Regions from separate parts of the Homo sapiens genome. Here region 2 is linked to region 1. The links are contacts of gene promoters, found by promoter capture Hi-C in blood cells and fetal thymus (Javierre and others, 2016). All regions are on one chromosome and are shown on one strand. Each heading gives the region's core, a stretch centred on a gene start or on the middle of the fragment in contact. The rest is flanking DNA. Distances are from core to core; before and after follow the strand shown. Region 1 holds the start of SYTL1 (synaptotagmin like 1). Region 2 overlaps AHDC1 (AT-hook DNA binding motif containing 1).

The links. The method cuts DNA at HindIII sites, captures the fragments that hold promoters and counts their contacts. A CHiCAGO score of 5 or more calls a contact.
Region 2: a contact is called between a fragment that was not itself captured here and the fragment with the promoter of SYTL1 in region 1, in 1 of 17 cell types (M1 macrophages). The highest score is 5.1, in M1 macrophages.

Annotation. Positions count from the first base shown.
Region 1 is chr1:27,338,816-27,343,271 of GRCh38, reverse strand. SYTL1 (synaptotagmin like 1) reads right to left here and starts at 1,250. Exons shown (of 15, transcript NM_001193308.2): 1 at 1,122-1,250. RefSeq lists enhancers at 1-615, 790-839, 1,370-1,629. The HindIII fragment of the contact is 10,600 bases long and covers 1-2,004 here.
Region 2 is chr1:27,562,266-27,566,219 of GRCh38, reverse strand. The region is part of intron 3 of AHDC1 (AT-hook DNA binding motif containing 1); the gene reads left to right. Among named protein-coding and RNA genes, the nearest start is that of AHDC1, 40 kb to the left of the region's middle. RefSeq lists an enhancer at 2,619-3,346. The HindIII fragment of the contact is 267 bases long and covers 1,442-1,708 here.

The sequences.
Region 1 (4,456 bases), core at 1-2,500:
ACAGTGACTCCGGAAAGAAAGCATTTGCCCAGCGCTGAGGGGCATGTAGACGTGGCAAGGGGCCCATGACTTGGTCAGGGCTGTGTCCTGAGCCCACTGGGCGGCCTCTCCTCTCTTCCCCGCCCCTTCCATTGCCACGGCTCCAGGTGGGGCTGAGACCGGCGGAGGCAGCTTGGCGGGCAGGTCCTGGCTTGTGTCCGCCGCCTGCTATGCTCTGTCCCCTCCCAGCTGAGTCAGTGGCCGAGCCCCAGCGATCCCTCTTGACACCCTCAGGAGCAGAAGGCCTCAGCACGGCTGCACGGTGTGCATTCACTCTGTGGATACCTGTGTGCTCCACAACAGCAGTTTCCCTGGACTTCTGTGGCCAACGTGTGAGCCCACGTTCGGCCTCCCCTGTGGATTGGGGTGTGAGCCCACGTTCGGCCTCCCCTGTGGATTGGGGTGTGAGCCCACGTCCCTCTCTGTGCCCTGTTGTGTGGCTGTGTGGGTCCGAGTCTGGTGGGCATGTCTGCGTTGCGTGAGTCTGTGAGCTGTGTAGTTGCTGTGTGTCTTTGTGTCCTGTTGCAGTGTGATGCTGCATGGTGACTATATTGTCTGTGTGGTGTGTTCAGTGACTTTCTAGGTGACAGCGCCGTGTGGGGTGTGTACAGTATGCATTGTGCATTTCCTCCTGTGCTGTATGTGTGACTGGGCTGTGTGCTGTGGGGTGTCCCCTGGTGCCTTGGGGGCCACCAGGTGTGTGTGTCTGAGTGTGGATGGAGGCCGGGGGGACGTTCGGCAGAACTGAGCCTATTTCTGTCCTTCAGGCCTGCCTGAGCTGGGCCATGGGCATCAGCCCAGCGTCCTCAGCAGTGCCCCCTCCCTGAAGTCCCCTCTCCTACCAACCAGAGGCAGAATCTCCTACCAGAGTTAGGTAGGAGTTTGGTCTTCTCTGCTGTTTTGACACGGTGGGACAGACCCATTGGTCAAGAGGAGGGTCTGTCCATCTGTCCAGCTGTTCCAGTTCCAGACATGTGCCCACCTCCCCCAACCCCAAGGTGCTGGAGGGTGCTCAGGATACCAGGTGGCAGTGCCTGCGTCTCTGGACCCTGGCAGGGGACCCTGGCACCGACACGTGTTACCTGTAGGGGTCCAGTATGGGAGGACACCTTCGCAGGTGGCTCCAGCTCCCCTGGCAGCCGAGTTTCAGGGACCGGGAGAAGAGCCGTGAGGGAAGAAGGCTGACTCAACAGGCAGCCCAGCCAGCAGCTGCCCCACACGGAGGAGGAGGAAACACCTCGGCAGGGCCTGATGCAAAACCGGGCCTGGACTCCCAGCGCCCGGGGGTGCGCCCCCGCAGCCGACTGGAGAGGCCCAGCTTGGCCCCAGCTCCACTGAGCAGGCCCTCTAGAACGGGTAGCAGCCCCACCTTGCCCACAACGGGGCTGATAGGAACTCGCTTTGAAAGCAAGTTAGAAACCTTTCTTTTCCAGCCCCAAGGGGAATGGCAGGATGGCAGACTTTGCAGTTAGACCACCCTGTGCAGAGTCCCTGCTCTGCCAGTGGGTGTGTGATGTGACCTTAAGCAGGTCTCTTCCATTTCTTCTGATGCAAACTGTGGGTAGCAGAGTGCAAGGAGCCTATACTAAGGGAAGTGAAAGTGCCCGGTGCGAGCTGGCATAGTCGGGGTGAGGTGTCCCCACTCCAGCATAGCCTAATGCCCACGGCCATCTCAGCAGCTGCTGCCCTCTATATCCACATGCACTTCTGGGACATGCTGGCAGAGCAGCCCTCTCTGTCCCCTCTGCTGTCCTGAGCCCCATCTGTTTGAGGAGGCCTGAACTCTTCTAGTGCCAAGGTGAGGGTCCCACACCCTCTGTCTATGTGGAGCCCCCCTGAACTCACCCCATTCTACACCTAGATTCTGCCCACCCTGAGATTAGAAGGTTTGGGCCCTAGATTACATTGGCTTCAGGACCATGAACCTCCTGGGTTGTCTTGGGCACAAGAGGCCACACCAAAGCTTTCTGACTCCCCCCAAGTCCACTTCACTTCCCATGGCCTGCCCTGGCCCAACCCCCTCCCCTGAACCTAGGGCCATGGATTAAAGATTAGTGGGCTCCTCATAGACCCCTGGGAGAGGCAGGACAAGGGGTGGATTCTAAACAAAACCAGTCTGGGCACAGTGACTCATGCCTGTAATCCCAGTACTTTAAGAGGTCGAGGTGGGCGGATCACTCTAGGACAGGAGTTTGAGACCAGTCTGGCTAATATAGTGAAACCCCGTCTCTACTCAAAATACAAAAATTAACCGGGCATGGTGGCAGGTGCTTGCAGTCCCAGTTACTCGGGAGGCCGAGGCAGGAGAATCGCTTGAACCCAGGAGGCGGAGGTTGCAGTGAGCCGAGATCGCACCACTGCACTCCAGCCTGGGCAACACAGCGAGACTCCGTCTCAGAAAAGCAAACAAGGCTGGGCGTGGTAGCTTACACCTGTAATCCCAGCACTTTGGGAGGCCGAGACGGGTGGATCACGAGGTCAGGAGATCAAGACCATCCTGGCTAACACGGTGAAAACCCATCTCTACTAAAAATACAAAAAAAATTAGCTGGGCGTGGTGGCGGCTGCCTGTAGTCCCAGCTATTTCCCGAGTAGCTGAGGCAGGAGAATGGCATGAACCTGGGAGGTGGAGCTTGCAGTGAGCCGAGATCGCACCACTGCACTCCAGCCTGGGCGACAGAGCGAGACTCCGTCACAAAAAAAAAAAGAAAAGAAAAGAAAAGAAAACTAAACACCCACTCTTCCTTCCTGTAATCAGAACCGACTCCCACCACCACTGAGAGACAGAGGACCCTCCTCCACCTCAGAACCACAGTGGAGGCTTCCCTACTTATTTTTTGCAAATTAATCTTATTTTTCTCATCTGTTAAATGGGGGTAATCTCTCCTTAGAGGGTTTTCACTAAAATTCAGTGAGATCCTTGCAGACTTTTTTTTTTCTTTTTTTTAGATGGAGTCTTGCTCTGTCGCCCAGGCTGGCTTGGCTCACTGCAGCCTCCGCCTCCTGGGTTCAAGTGATTCTCATGCCTCAGCCTCCCGAGTAGCTGGCACTACAGGCGCCCGCCACCACGCCTGGCTAATTTTTGTATTTTGAGTAGAGATGGGGTTTCACCATGTTGGACAGGCTGGGCTCGAACTCCTGGTCTCATGTGATCTGCCTGCCTCAGCCTCCCAAAGTGCTAGGACTACAGGCGTGAGCCACCTTGCCCAGACCCCAGTACTCTTGATTAATGCATTTATGCACCCACACATGCAATACCCATGGAGCAGCTGCTGTGGGACCATTACTGTGATGCTGCCTCCTTCATTAAGGCCCTCAAAATGGAAGGAGAGTGGCCAAGAACATCCACACCCCTTCCTGCCATCCTGGTCCTGGCGCCCCCAAGGATGTTTCTCTGCCCTCCTCTCACCTCCTTAGCAGCTCTTCCTCCTGGAAGGCATGAAACTTCATTATCTGGTCTTCGGGTTTCTAAATTTCCCTTCCTTTCTCTGCTCTCCTGTCCTTCCTATAGCTGTGACTCCCTGACGCTGATACTTCCAGCCATCTCTCCTGCTGTGTCTCAACCTGCATTCCTCTGGCCTCTTCCCCACTTGAAACCTATTTCCAAGTTTCCACCTCTGTAACCAGCCCCCATCATCCTGGCCCCTGGCCTCCTGCTGCTTCCTGCCACCTCCAGATGCTGTCCACACTTCACTCCAGGTGCCCTCCCATCTGTGTGTCTCTGCTGTCCTCCCCCTGCCCAGGTCTCAGTCCCCGCTCAGCCTCTTCTGGAAGCCTCCTCTTCTCCTGCCTCCTTGCGGCCACACAAGGCCACTCTGGCCCTATGTTGCACAACTTTCAAACGTACTTTTCTTTGTCATCCTCTGGTTTGGAAGGTGCCAGCAGACAGCCAGGCCATCCCTCGGGCCCATTCATACATTTCTAAACCAGTCCAGTCCCCTTTAGACACGTCCTGAGATGGAAGTCTCACCACTTCCCAGGACAGCCTGGCCCTCAGCCTGACCCTCAGGATTGCTGCCCTTACTCTGGCTTTCTCCCCTTCGTCACCTATACCCGTAGAGCCTTAGCTGTGGGCTATTTCCTGTCCTTCAACACCCCTGGGCCTTCTGTGCTCCCTGTGGGAATACTTTTCCCCAGCTCCAGGACTAGCTCAGCCTCCTCCAGAGTTCAGTGCCCCTGCGCTGCAGCCAGTCTCTAGGCAACATCCCTCTGTTAAGAGGGACATTAAGAGGCAGGGTCCTAGAGGCCAGCAGATCTGGGTTAAAATCTGGCTCTGCCGCATGGTTCCCTGTGGCCTGGGATCAATGACAATCCCTGTAAGCCTCACTCTCTTCCTTTATGAAGTGGGGACAATAGCCATCTCACAGGCCTGCTGCTGTCAGGAGAGCTTGTTTTTCACCTCCGCGGCCATTCTCCT
Region 2 (3,954 bases), core at 326-2,825, 220 kb before region 1:
CTTCCTGGATCTGAATCTCTGCCTTGATTTCTCCCGCCCCCTGTCTTTCTTCTGACTTTGTCCTTCTAAATACATATCTTTCTTTCAGAGCTGGGCCTTTCAGTTCTCCTTACTCTATTTCCTACCAGGTTGTTTCCTTCCCAGGCCTATGAAGATTGGGGAGCTGGTGCAGGGGGCAGGGCTCCAGAGTCACCCCAAAGGATCCCTCTTTTTAGTAGGGGCCAGATGTCCTGGAAGCCCCACTGGGCTTATGTGGTTGAACCTGAAATGGAGGGTGCAAGGTTGAAGAGCCTACAGAGAGTGTGGCACCAGGAAACAAGAGTGTGAGTCTGCCTTTCCAGGGTTTTAGGGGATGGGCTCCATCCATCTAGTCTACCTTCCACTAGCCCAGGGTAGGAACAGAAGATAGTTCCAGGAGCTAAACTGGCCCAAGAAGCTCTCTAGAGAACAGGCCTCACTGATTCTTGGGATTTGTCCCTTCCCTTGCTAAAATGATGGCAAGTTCAGACTGTGCCTCAGTTTCCCCAGATGGTATAGGGATACTATCCTTGCTTCATGTCTGACTTCTTTAAAGTGCTTTGAGTTCCTGGAACAAACTCAAAGTTATGAGGAACAAGGAAAGACTAGAGTGACTCCCGCCCCTTGCTCACCAGCGCCGGGGGACACCAGACAGAATGTTTGTCCAGGGCATGGGTGGAATCAGGGTCCTGTCTCCTTAAGGGTTGGGTGGAGGACAGTGCCTCGCCTCCCTTCAAGACTGGCAGCCCCTGCTGTCTGGCCCGCCCTCCCAGTCTGGGCAGTGGCCTCTGTCCTTCCTCTCTCGCCCCTCTTCATGGAATGAGCTTGGAGTCGTGGGCAAACAGGCCCTGGGGTAGGGGAGTCAGGCCTCACCTCTGGGTGTGGTGAGGCCTGGTCAGGCAGACCGTTCTAGGATCCTGGGGTCTGGGCACTACTCACCAAGGGGCCAGGCGGGGGAGTAGGGGTGCCTGGGGGAGGCAGGTTGCACGCAAGGCATGCTGGGCCCCCTCGGCGGGTGGGTGGGGGGAACAAAGCTGGCATCGAGGCCTCAGCTAAAATTAGCCGCTTCCCTGCGCGGGAGCGAGCATGCCTGCCAGCCGCCCAGATCGCCGCTGCCTCGGCAGGCCATCTGTCGCCACGCTTTACTCAGTCCCCCAGGGCCCCCCAGCTCCAGCCACCCCCAGGGGCTAGGGGGACTCTGCTCTGAGGCTGTCCGTGGCCAGGACTCTAGGCTCTTGTGCTGTCGTGCTGTGTGACCTCAGGCTAGGCCTTTCCCTCTCTGGGCTCCTGTAAAACGAGGGGCCCTAGACACTGACATCTCAGGTCCTCTAGTCCTTCCAAGCACCAGGTGCTGCTGCTGGTCATGATGGGGTGGGAGGTGGGGTGCCTCCCTCCCCTTAGAGCCACTCCTCTTGTCCAAGCTTTGGGCCAAGTGGGGTTTAGGGTAAAGGTAGGGCATGGTGGACTCCTATCAGATTCATTGGTCTTCATCGGGCGGCAGGGAGGCACTGCATCCAACAACACCCCAACATCTCCCCTGTCCCCCTCCACACTTGACCTCCAAGCAGTCTTAAAGAAACAGCTCCAGGTGGGGAGCCAGGAGATGGAGGCTGAGTTCAGCTGATCCTAATTTGCTCTGTGGCTTGGGCAAGTCTCTTAGTCTATTTCTCCCTCTCTTCAATCAGAAGCTTCCCATTTCTTGAGGAGCGGCCCACTTTATGCTACCTTGTCTCATGAGGCTGGCACTCTTGTCCCTTTTGTACAGATGAGGAAGATGAGGTTCCTTGTGAGGAAGCAGGGGAGCAGGGGAGGCGGGCTGGAGCCCTCTGTGGCCTGAAGTTCTGCCTGCTGGTCTCCAGCTTCAGCTTCTTCTTTCTGACCCTGGCACTTCTCTCACTGCGGCCCCTTCCCCCCTCCCCGAAGCCAAAGAGGCTGAGCTGCTGCTCCAAGGTCACCCAGCTTGGCCCTGGAGGAGCTCAGACTGGAACCCAGGCCTCTTGGCTCTTGGCCTCCCTCACCACTATGGCCAGCAGGCTGGGCCTGTTCCCTGGGTGAGTCATGTTCCTGGACTTTGGCCTCCTTGTCCCCAGCTCTGTGGCCTGAAGTTTGGAGAGGGGGCCTTTGTAAGGAAGAAGGGCTCCCCTGGAAGCTATGGGGGTCTCAAGCCATTATCCCATACTCTTCCCACTGAGCACATGGTGATAGCAACCCCTAACCGCCCTACTCCCCACTGATCTCTAAGCAGTCTCATAGTAACAGCGCCTCAGGACAGCCCTCCCTCCACCACTCATTCAGCCCCCTCCCTAGATACACAACTACAGTGAATAAGAAATGGAGTGGAGTGAGGGCTGGGGGAGGTGGCATTTCCAGGTAGTCAGTGTGTCCAGGCAGCTTCCTCCCCAGCACTCCTCTCCCCCAGCACCCGCCACTGGGCGGGAAGCCACAGCACCTCCCCTCCTGGTGTCCAGAGGCCAAGGTCACACCAGAGCCCTGTGTGCCTTCACCTCCTCTGGGGCCAGTGGTGTTTGTCACTGGGGCAATGTGTGGCTGTGCCCGGCTCTGGCAGTGCTGGGGTGACATTCATGCCGTGTGAGCTGTGACGCCTCTGCAGGCAGAGGGACGGCACCACCCAGGCTGGTGACAGTGATGGGGGAGGGGTGAGGTGGGCTGTCACCTGTCCAAGGCAGCCGGGGAGGTGACATGTTGTGTACCCATCCCACAGTCTGCAGGGAGGATTCCCAGGCAGGGGCGAGGTTATGTCCCTGCCTCATGCTGTGTGGTGGGTGGAGGGGTCCATGCCTTCCTCACACCTGGAAGATGGGACTTGTCCCACGTGTGTGTGTGTGTGTGTGTGTGTCTTGGTCAGCTGTGTGACAGGTTCTGTGTGTGTGTGCATGTGTGTGTGTCTTGGTCAACTATGTGACAGGTTCTTTGTGTGGGTGTGTGCATGCATGCGTGCGTGTGTGTGTGTCTTGGTCAGCTGTGTGACAGGTTCTGTGTGTGTGTGCATGTGTGTGTGTCTTGGTCAACTATGTGACAGGTTCTTTGTGTGGGTGTGTGCATGCATGCGTGCGTGCGTGTGTGTGTGTCTTGGTCAGCTGTGTAACAGGTTCTCTGTGCATTAGTGGGTGTGGGGGTGCCTGGTTGCGTGTCAGTTATGCCACTGTGAGGGGTAACAGACGCCTGCCCCATGCTGTCGAGGGTGTGTCAGGTGTGCCCATCTCATGTTTGGAGGAAGCGACAGGTTATGTGCTTAGTTCATCCCGTTAGGAGGGTTGTCACCAACTTGTGCGCCTGTCTCTGGCTGTTGTGTGTGTGAGATGTCACCATGTGCCCGTCGCAGGCTGTTGTGGGGAGTGGCATGTGTGATTCTCTCATGCTGTTGGGAAGTTGTCAGTAACTTGGGAGCTCGTGTCTCACTCTAAAGAGACGACATGTTTTCTGGTGATACGGGGCTGGCAGCTGGTGGGGCCTTCCCATGCAGACCACAGAGCCCCAAAGGGCTGGCCAGAGGAAATGCTTAGGGCCCTGAGCAGAGGGACAAGTGGGAGCTGGGGGGTGCTCAGTCCCGCATGATCTACCCTCTCACCCATATGTCAGCCCGTGGGACTGTTCCCCAGGGGGAGGGACCCAGCATTCTTCAGATGGTGTGGAGAAGGGCCTTTAGGGCCAGGGCAGGTGTGTGTCTGTGAGGTGGGGCACCAAGGCAGGGTTTGCATGGGAGGCAGGGGGCTGTGTCCCTGAGGGCCTGGGGACCCTATTTCCTGCCTCTCCTGCCCCTGAAACTGTTAAACTAATTAAGGCTCTGGAGCCACAGGATTAATCGGGGCAGCTCTGCGCGGGCCGGGAGCTCAGGTAGTCAGTCGATCAGTGCACCGGGGAGGATATTGGATTTCTGAACCGCAAGTCAGCACTATTCGGGCCTGTTATCTCTCC